Linked DNA regions of Homo sapiens: region 2 is linked to region 1. Evidence: promoter capture Hi-C in human tissues and cell types (Jung and others, 2019). All regions are on one chromosome and are shown on one strand. The core of a region is centred on a gene start or on the middle of the fragment in contact, and the rest is flanking DNA. Distances in the headings are between cores, read along the strand shown. Region 1 holds the start of MCTP1 (multiple C2 and transmembrane domain containing 1). Region 2 overlaps MCTP1 (multiple C2 and transmembrane domain containing 1).

What was found. Contacts are between HindIII fragments. The study calls those that stand out against the background at their distance.
Region 2: a fragment that was not itself captured here is called in contact with the fragment with the promoter of MCTP1 in region 1 in 3 of the 25 tissues and cell types used here (bladder, small bowel and thymus).

Annotation. Positions count from the first base shown.
Region 1 is chr5:95,282,397-95,287,593 of GRCh38, reverse strand. It overlaps MCTP1 (multiple C2 and transmembrane domain containing 1), which reads left to right and starts at 2,500. Exons shown (of 23, transcript NM_024717.7): 1 at 2,500-3,738. The coding sequence starts at 3,019. RefSeq lists silencers at 3,152-3,211, 3,292-3,411. The HindIII fragment of the contact is 12,418 bases long and covers 1-4,776 here.
Region 2 is chr5:95,172,053-95,177,249 of GRCh38, reverse strand. All of the region lies in intron 1 of MCTP1 (multiple C2 and transmembrane domain containing 1), which reads left to right. LOC105379085 (a long non-coding RNA gene) reads right to left here. Exons shown (of 8, transcript XR_948575.3): 4 at 2,491-2,644. Among named protein-coding and RNA genes, the nearest start is that of MCTP1, 110 kb to the left of the region's middle. The HindIII fragment of the contact is 5,787 bases long and covers 21-5,197 here.

The DNA of each region.
Region 1 (5,197 bases), core at 1,251-3,750:
GTTGGCTTTTCTTATTCTGTGTGGAGAGTGCTTCACAGCCTCTGTGTTTACCTTTGCAGTTGTGAGCTTGCCCTAATGTGGACTCTGCCTCACCAGTCCTGACTTTTCCCTCATTTGCTTCTCAGAGGCTTCCTCAGGAATTAGGTGGGGTTGGCCAGAACAGAGCTACAAAGAAAGGGTAGGCCATCGTAGCTCTAAGACTGTTTCATTCTCTAATTATTAAGGTTCCAAAGGAAAACTTTCAGCAGCACACAATTTTTTCAAAAAAACATGCTTTATTATTGTTTGCTTTTATTTATACTTTAAATTTTAAAATAATTATGGACTCACAGGAAGTTGCAAACATACTACATAGAGCTCCTGTGTGACCTTCACCCAATTTCCCCCAATGATATTATCATACATAACTATAGTTCAATATTAAGACCCAGGAAATTGCCATTGGTACAACTTATCTTATTCAGATGTCACGTTTTTATGTGCATTCATATATGTATGTAGTTCTATGCAGTCCTATCCTGTGTATAACACACATTCATGTAACCACCACCACAATCTAAATTTGTCTCATCATAACAAATAAACTTCTTTATTCTGATCCTTTACATTTGCCCCACCGCTAACCCCTGGCAACCACTATCCATCTCTATAATCTTGTCATTTCAATAATATTATTTAAATGCAGCCCAGTGTTTCTCCATTCACGTTGCTCTTTTTCCAAAGCATAGTATTCATATACTTGGGAAATACTGGGTCTACCAAATAACAATAATATCAACTATATACAGGCACTGAGCTAAGTCCTTTTTCCACTTAATCTTCAAAATAGCCCTGTGAGGCTATTTATTAATACCTGGCATTAGTATTAGTAAATCACATCACATTACCCTCACGATTAAAAAAGACCTCTAATGTCTCCCAATTTCATTTAGAGGAAACATGGACTCTCACTCTGGCTATAGGACCCACTCCCTTAGCTGACCTTTTGTTTCACTACATCTCTTACCAACCCCACCCACCTTGCTCTACTCTATTTGGAGTGGTATCGTTCTGTCCTTGAATATGCCCAGTCAAGCTGCTTCCTGCCTCAGGACCTCTGTATCTGCTGTTCCTTCTACCTGAAATTCTACAGTCAGATCCGTCAATAGCTGGTTCTCTGTCCTCATTAAGTCTTAACTCAAAATTTTATCTTCTCAGAGAGACTCTCCCTGTACACATAATGTAAAAAACCAAAAACCTCTCCATATGGGGCTGCCAGATTTAGCAAACAAAAACATGACACCCAGTTAAATTTAAATTTCAGATAAATAATAGTATTTTAGTATAAGTATGTCCCATGCAATATTTGGGACATACATATACTAATATTATTCATTGTTTCTCTGAAAGTCAGTTTAATTGGGTGTCCTGCATTTTGTCTGGAAGCTCTTCCTCTGTAGCCACTCTGTTATGTGGTACCCTGCTTAACTGTTTCCATGGGACTTTTGCATATTAGAAATTCTGTTTATTGTCTCGCATCACCTCCCAACCCTCACCCTCACAATAAGCTCCATGTGGGTGGGACCCTGATGCCCTGTTCACAGCTGCATCCCCAGAGCCTATCACAGTGCCTGGTATATAGTAGGTGCTTAATAAATATTTGTTATAAAGGTAACAAAAACAAAACAAAACAAAAAACTTAGGTTGGTAACACCTCCAAAGCATACTGCTAGCTAGACAAGACTGATCAGTGTGCTACCGCAGCTTAGGGAACTCTCCCGTTTTCCCCATTTAGGAGGACGAAAGAGGCATTGTGTTGCTGGCCTTTCAGAAGTCTCTCCTAGCAGAATCAGAAGACCCTGGCTGAGCAGCTTTGGGAGAAGCAAAGTCTGAATGAGCTAAAAAGCCTTTTCCGTTTGCCTTGCAACAAGCAAATGAAGTAACCAAAGAAAAAATGCGCTTGAATGAAAAGAACAAGATTCTGTGCGTGCCGAATCGGATCAAAGGCAGTGCGCATCACCCATCTTCGTCCACCGTAAACTCCCTGCAACTTAAGGGCTGGCTTTATCGTCAGACTCCGGAAATGCTAGAACCTGATCATAAGAGACCAGTGCAGAGGCAAATAAAGAAAAGGGAGGGGTGGATGGGGATGAAGTCAAGACAGAAGAAATTAAACTCTCGTCTTGGACCCAGGGAGCGCAACGGGGCGGGGGCAGACGTCTTCAGCTTTAGAACTCCGTCGGGTTCATCGCTCAGTGTGGACGATCGGCGCCCCCACGAGACCCATCGAGGGCACATAGTTTCCACTCCAGCTCGCTTCATCCGACCCAGACGATCGCCAGCGCGGCCAGCGGCCAGCGCACAGCGAGCTGCCTGGGCAACTGTGGCCGGATCCTAGGGAGCAAGCTGGCTTCGGGCCCTACCTAGCTCCACCCGGCTCCTACCGGCCCTCCCACCTAGGAGCTGGAGGATGGTCCCGGGGCGCCCCAGGGGGACTGCTGGTCCCCGGAGTCTCCAGCCAGACGCGCCTTGTTGTGTGAGCCGCGTGCGCGCCCAATTTGGAGGCAGCCGCCCCCGCCGCTGACAGGTGCTGCCCAGAGGGCGCCGGGTGCGGTCCCTGGCGCAGCTGGACGCGCACGCCCCGGTGCGTGCAGCTTCCCGAGCTCGGTCAGAGAGAAGAGGGAGCCAGGGCGCGGCCTGGGGGACGCCAGTGGACTGGAGCCGCGGAGCTTCGAGGGAAAAACTTTGCAGGCGCCGCGGCCGGGATTCGGTTACGGCTCCAGCCCACCCCAGCAGGTGCGGGAGGAAGAGGCAGCGCCGGAGTCCCGAGGCCAGAGAGCCTCGGCGGCGGCGGCCGCTTCTTTCCCCCGAGCTGGCCTGAAGTCGCTGGGCACTCCCGGTTTCTGCTGCTGCGCCCGCCGCCGCCGCCGCCGCCACCGCCAGCGCCGCGGGGACCCGGGAGGAGGTGCAGCCGAAGAGGGAGGAGAAGCAGGAGGAGGAGGAGGAGGAGGAGGGGAGAGGAGGAGCAGGGGGTGGAGGATGGAGCCCCGGGCTGCCGCGGCGGGCGAGCCAGAGCCGCCGGCGGCGTCCTCCTCCTTCCAGGCCCGGCTCTGGAAGAACCTGCAGCTGGGGGTGGGCAGGAGCAAGGGCGGCGGGGGCGGGCGCGCTGGGGGTCCAGAGCGCCGCACTGCGGACACCCCGTCGCCCTCCCCGCCACCCCCGGTGGGCACAGGGAATGCACCGGCCAGGGGGAGTGGTGCAGGCAGCAGGTGGAGCGGCTTCAAGAAGCGGAAGCAAGTGCTGGACCGAGTCTTCTCCTCCTCGCAGCCCAACCTGTGCTGCTCGTCGCCGGAGCCCCTGGAGCCCGGCGGCGCCGGCAGAGCCGAGCAGGGGTCCACGCTACGCCGCCGGATCCGCGAGCATTTGCTCCCCGCCGTAAAGGGGCCCGCGGCGGCCTCGGGAGCAGCGGGAGGGACGCCTCCTGGCGGACGCTCCCCCGACTCAGCTCCTTCCTCTTCCTCCGCCTCATCCTCCCTGTCCTCCTCGCCCCAGCCTCCCCCGAGGGGGGACCGCGCCCGAGATGAGGGTGCACGGCGTCAGGGCCCCGGGGCGCACTTGTGCCACCAGAAGAGCTCCTCTCTGCCGGGCACCGCCTGCCTGGAGCAGCTGCTGGAGCCGCCGCCTCCTCCCGCAGAGCCGGCGCGGAGTCCCGCGGAGTCTCGGGCCCCGGAGACGGGCGAGGAGCACGGCAGCAGCCAGGTGAGTGCCGGTGGCGCGGCCGGAGACAAGGTGCGCGGGACCACGCCTCCCTCTTCAGGCGTTCACCACCCGGGGAGCGGGGGGCGGGGGCCGGGAGGCGGGAGGAGAAATGCTATTAATTCTAAGTAGATGAAACAGTCGAAAGAAAACATCTCGCTCTGGTTTAGCAAAGATGAAAGAGTTCTGACTTGCACCCGGACTTTACTTTTGGTAGAAATGATACCTGTCACCAGAAGCTTTCTGAGTAGTCAATGAAAAGTTAGACCTAAAGTGGGTACTTTTTAGAGTTCTCCTGAAAGGAGATGTCCAGCCAAATCTCATCTTGGCAAAAGAAAAAACTAACCCAATAACTTAAAAACAATTACGATCACGTGTGGTGGTGTGGAGAGGTACCATTGGAAGCAAATGGCTGGCGGGAAGAAATAGAAACGTGGAGAGGTAAATTATGGCACATGTGAGGTCCTGTGCCAGGGAAAGCATCATCTCAGGCCTGCATCCGGCACCCCTTTCTTAAACCTTCCTGCTGCAATTGGATCACCGCCCTTCAAGTGGACAGCGGGAGCGTCTCCTCCCAGTTAGTCAAATGCATATGTTCCTATGAGCCTTGTGAAGTTTTAATAGTCACCTGAAGCACTTGCTTTTTAAAGTATGCTGCTTTATACATCATGTTGATTGCTCAGACAAGAGTCAAGGTTTGTAAAAGTGCTTTTACTAGAAATTTTATGTGTGGGACCCACAATGTGTCCCACTGAATAGCCGTTTTTACTCCCTCAATTTCGAAGAGGCACTGCTCTTTTTGTAAATGTTTATCAAATCATTTTAATTCTAGAAAATATTTTGGAAGTTTCACTCTGCCAGAGACCTAAAGAACATTTTTCTCCCAATATATCTTAGTTTACTTACACTTTCTCATTGTTTTGACTCTGATTAATTATGTTAGATGAATGACACTTGCATTAAAACTTTAGTTATTAGTAGATTAAAAGCTCAGCTACAAAGAAACAGGCTGTGTTTGAAGGGTAAGATACGGGAATAGATAGGCTTTCAGTTGGAAGTTTTTATAGTTCATGGACTGATTTCTTAGTGTAGCTCCAGAAAGTAAAGCAGAATATGAATATGTTTTGTTCCTTAATAAACAAAATTGCTTGCTGTAAGCAAACACCTGATGATCCAGAAAAATATTTTATTCTCAGAAGAGTAAGTAGAGATAATAGTGACAAAAAGACCAAATACATTTACCTTTCCTGTCATCTTGAAAGTGAACTGGATAGAGCCCCTGTTTTTGGTTTTAAAAGTAAAGTGATAAATGGTTTTAGAAGAATGTTTTAAATTCAGTATAGATGAATACTATATATTAAAGGAAGTATTTATTTTTGAGCGTGTACATAATCCTAATGTAGAAGAATTTCAGAGTTGGGGAACTTTACATTTTTTTCTTTCACTATCAAGGATAATAGAA
Region 2 (5,197 bases), core at 1,665-4,164, 110 kb after region 1:
TAAATCTCCACAATCACAGGAGCCAATTCCTTAAAATAAATCTCTTTCTCTCTGTGTGTATGTGGGTACATGTAAATATAAATATATAAATATAGATATAAAAATAAATATATATTTCTATGTATACACACCCTAATTCTGTTTCTCCGGATAACCCTAATATATATTATGTGTATATATTATGTATGTGTATTTCATGTCTCTCTCTCTCTCTCAAATTAGCTGGGCATGGTGGCGGGCGCCTGTAGTCCCAGCTACTCGGGAGGCTGAGGCAGGAGAATGGCGTGAACCCAGGAGGCTGAGCTTGTAGTGAGCGGAGATTGCACCACTGCACTCTAGCCTGGGCGACAGAGCAAGACTCTGTCTCAAAAAAAAAATGTAGGTATATATATATTTTTATTTTTTATATTTGAGACAGTGTCTCACTCTGTTGCCCAATCTTGGCTTACTGCAGCCTCGATCTCCCAGGCTCAGGTGATTCTCCCCACTTCAGCCTCCTGATTAGCTGGGACTACAGACATTACAGGCATGCACCACCATGCCCAGCTAATTTTTTGTATTTTTAGTAGAGACAGGGTTTTGGCATGTTGGCCAGGCTGGTCTCAAACTCCCGGACTCACAAAATCTATCCTCCTTGGCCTCCCAAAGTATGTATATGTATTTTTAAATGAAAACTTATTGGAGAAAAAGACTTTATATCAATACTGCTGTTTTTGTTGTTGTTTAAAACAGAGTCTCACTTTGTCGCCCAGGCTGGAGTGCAGTAGTACAATCTCAGCTCACTCCAACCTCTGCCTCCTGGATTCAAGCGATTCTCCTGCCTCAGCCTCCTCAGTAGCTGGGATTACAGGTGTGTGCCATCACACCTGGCTAATTTTTGTATTTTTAGTAGAGATGGGGCTTCACCATGGTGGCCAGGCTAGTCTCGAACTCCTCGGCTCAAGTGATCTGCCCACCTTTGCCTCCCAAAGTTCTGGGATTACAGGCGTGAGCCACCACGCATGGCCTACTACTGCTCGTTCTTATGTGCCCCAGACCTAGAATAGTGCTGGGCATACTAAACAAATATTTGTTAAAAAAAAATACATTTTATCAATTAGAATAACAAAGATAGTTTTTAAGTCCTTTCACATCAAGTAGCTCATTTGATTTTCTCAAGGAGGCAAGAAGGCCTATAAATAGGAATCACCAGTATTTTATAGGGAAGAAATGCAGACTCAGAACGCTGGCATGAGGTTTTGGTGTTAGAGCCAGATTTCTTGCCTTTCAGCCTGCGTTTTGTCCATCTTATCCTGATATTCTGCTAGCACTTCTGGAAAACAAAAGGGTAATAGAGATGTCAGTTTTTTATGTTTTTGTTTTGTTTGGTTTTGAGAAAACCTTATGTAATTTTTCTTTCTTTTGGAGTGAACTGAATTCACTGGGGGAAGCATGTGCTGGAGGCCAGCAACATCCTGGCAGGTGTGAGTGGGTGGGCCTCTGAGGGCCGTGCTGAGGACACCTTGTTTACGTAGAGGAAACAGGACTGCAGAAAGGCATTTCTCCTTACACTTAAAATCCAGTTGTGCTGAAAATCTGGACCTACCCATAAGCTATTTCAAGCAGTCTTCACCAAAGCCATCCTTTAGAATGCTTTAGAATTTGATTTGCAAGTGGATTTTTCTGTTATGGGAGTCAGGGTTTATTGTGTGGTAGGAGGAGAATTTACTTTGGATATTCTTTTAATTCCTTCCATGTGCCCCAAATGTTTTTCTAATTGTTCCTCAGCTGAGAAGATAGCTTCATGAAGGAATAGAGGGAAAGGGTACCAATGTTTGTTGAAACAGGTGCCAGTCAGCCACACTGAGTGAAAACCAAACTGAGTCCAGGAACACGAGTTTGGTTTCAAGCTTCTTGTGCCATTTCCTGCGTGTTTGCCTGCTAAAGGGCAGTTGAGTGTTCAAAGCTATCCCTCTCAATTGAAAACTCATCTGACAATAATGAAGCGTGTCAGCTCAGAAAGGCATTAGGAGCTGGAGACATAGCCAAGTGCTTGTATTCAACATTGATTAATGAATTGGTTCTAATCTCAGAGCATCATTTTCACTTATAATTTTTAACTCAAAAAATTGATTTAAAAGTGCAATATAAGTTTAATTCTATTTTTTTCCCACTGTGTCTGGAGAACAAGTTTTTTTCTTGCATTTTTCCCTTTTTCCCTCAATTTACTTAAGCATAGATTTTATGTCATTCTCTCATCACATACCAAAAAACTTAGCAGTTGTGCCAATATAATAAATGTTGAAGTAAGAAAGACAGGGAGACAAATGGAAAAAAAAGAGAATACAAAAAGTATGGCTAACATTATGTAAGAAGAAAAATACAAATGGCTTTCTAGTAACCAAATAAGATGTACACATGAACTTCATAAATATCCTATTGCTTTGTGGAGACTTTCGTTTTATTTTAGAATAATTAAAAATAGTAATTAACAGTTTATTGAGTACTTACTTTATGCCAGGCTCTGTTCTCAGGACTACTCATGAAATAACTCACAGAATCCATACAGCAACCTTATGAAGGAGGTCTGAGGGGAGTCCCCATTTTACATGTGAATTACGCTGTGAGGCAAGGGAGCTGAAGTAGTTTGCCAAAGGTCACACACCTAGTAAGTAGGGGAACAGATTCAAACAAGAATGAGACAGACATTTTCTGTTATTTTTCACATGCAAAAATGTCTCTATTCTACCTCACCATTTGATTAATAATTCTGGGCTAAGAAATAATTTCTTTTAGAATTTGAAGGCTTGTTCTTATAACTTTTAACTTGTAATATTTTTTTGAGAAATCTAAGCCATTTTGATTTCTCATTCTTTGCATATGGCTAGTTTTTGGTTCTTGGGTTTAGTATCTTTTCATTATCTCTGATTTTGAAATTTTATGATAATGAGCATTAATAATTAATACGGGTTTTGAAAAAAATGTGCTGGACAGTTGATGGGCCATTTTATATGATACATGGTCTTCATTTTGGGGAAGGTTTATTTTCGTCCTCTTTTGATCCCATCATTATCCCTCTGATTTCTCTTTGGAGCATGCATTTATTCATTCAACAAATAGTTATCATGCCCCTCCCCTAGCAAGGCATTGTAATTCTGTGCTAGAGGTAATAGCAGTGAACAAAACATTGCCCTCATGGAGCCAATTTGATATTGGGCCTTCTTGATTGACCCTTTAATTAGCTTGTTTTTCCTGTAGTCCATCCTTTCAACTACTTTATATTATTTTCTGAAATATTTCCTTGGCTTTTTCTTCCATTTCTTTAACTGATTTATTTTTAATTTCAGTTCTTTCATTTTTAATTTCCAATTACTCTTTCTTGTTCTCTGATTTGTTTCTTATCTCTCTCTGAGAAAATTAATTGTTGCTTTTTTTTTTTTAAGTATTCTCCATTCCCTTCATAGCCTCTATTAACTCCAGATTGCTTTGTGGTTGTTTATTTGGGTCTCTTTTATGTTGGTGGCTTTCCCTAAATGTCTGATGATTCTTGTCTCTGTGCTCATACTTAAGAGTTAAGCACTAAAATACTGATTAAATTTTCTGCCTACATGTGTGAATATATACTCTGGTAAATTGCTCTAAATGTCAATTATGTGGCCAGGAGGTAAAGGGAGGAGAAAGTAGAATTGAGACTGGATGTAATTGTTAGGATCAGAATGTAGCATGCCTTGCCTACCAAGGTAAGCAGTTTAACCTTTACTTTATAAACACTGAGGAGCTAGATGATGGCTATACTTGAGGTGAGTTATTAGGAGTCTCTCCTTGTAGTCCTAGGATGCAAATTTTCTGTCTTTGTTTCATTCTCTCATAAATTTTTTTTCTGGTTATGATTATATTTTACTTGTAGTGACTAAATATTATTTATTCCTTCCACTTGCCATATGCATTCCCAATATAATTTAGTTCTTGCAATTTGAATAGAGGAATCAAGTAGTAACTCTAGTCAGTTATTCTCCTGCTGCCTAGGAAATCACTGAGTTCTAATAGATTGAAATTGCTTGTAGCCTCATGGGCTCTAAGAGTCAGTCAATAATGTGTATTTTCAAAGTAGATGTTTTAGTAACTACTCTTTTGGTAAAGTAACATTGTGAGTCTTCGATCTCCATACAAGAAAATAATCTTTATTTGTTCTAAATAATTCCAAGTAAATACATGATAGTTTTCAGTTCAACAGACTATACAAAAAAACATCAGAACAACTTCTTTTCCTAAAAAAAAGGCTGAAATTAATATGGTCTATAATCTGTGAAAATTACCATGTGTAAATGAAGAGGGACTATGTTCCTATTCAATGAATGCATATACTTATTGTTAAGCTCTAGGGTGTTTATTGTGTTCTCTCAGAGCCCTTTGCATTCCTAAGCTCTTGGAGATTTGACCTATGGTAACACTGCCCCTACCATAAGCAATGGGGTAATTGGCTTTAAAGTAAGGAAATGGCACACAACAGAACAAGAGATACCATAGTTCTCTCACTCAGATCCTTAATTTATTCAACAAATATGTATTGTGCATATATTATGAACCAGACACCACTGATAAAAGGCAAAATTCACATCTTGGTAGAGCTCTGCAGTGCCTCATGTAGTGCTAGACATCATACAGGCACCAAAAAAAAAATAGTTTGATATGAAGAAAGTAATAATTCATCTATGCCTGTGAAGAAGTCCTGGGAGGGCTTTTTAGCACTCTAATGGTTAAGCACAGTGGAATTTTTAGCACAGAAATTACAGAAAGGAGTCTTAGAAGTAATACGAATTAATGTCCCTGTCTGACAGCTTTGAAGAGAGTAGTGGTTCTCCCAGCACAGAGTTTGAGATCTGAGAACGGACAGACTGCCTCCTCAAGTGGGTCCCTGACCCACAAGTAGCCTAACTGGGAGGCATCCCCCAGTAGGGGCAGACTGACACCTCACACGGCCAGGTACCCCTCTGAGACAAAGCTTGCAGAGGAATGATCAGGCAGCAACATTTGCTGTTCAGCAATATGCGCTGTTCTGCAGCCTCCACTGCTGATACGTAGGCAAACGGTCTGGAGTGGACCTCCAGCAAACTCCAACAGACCTGCAGCTGAGGGTCCTGACTGTTAGAAGGAAAACTAACAAACAGAAAGGACATCCACACCAAAACCCCATCTGTACCTCACCATCATCAAAGAT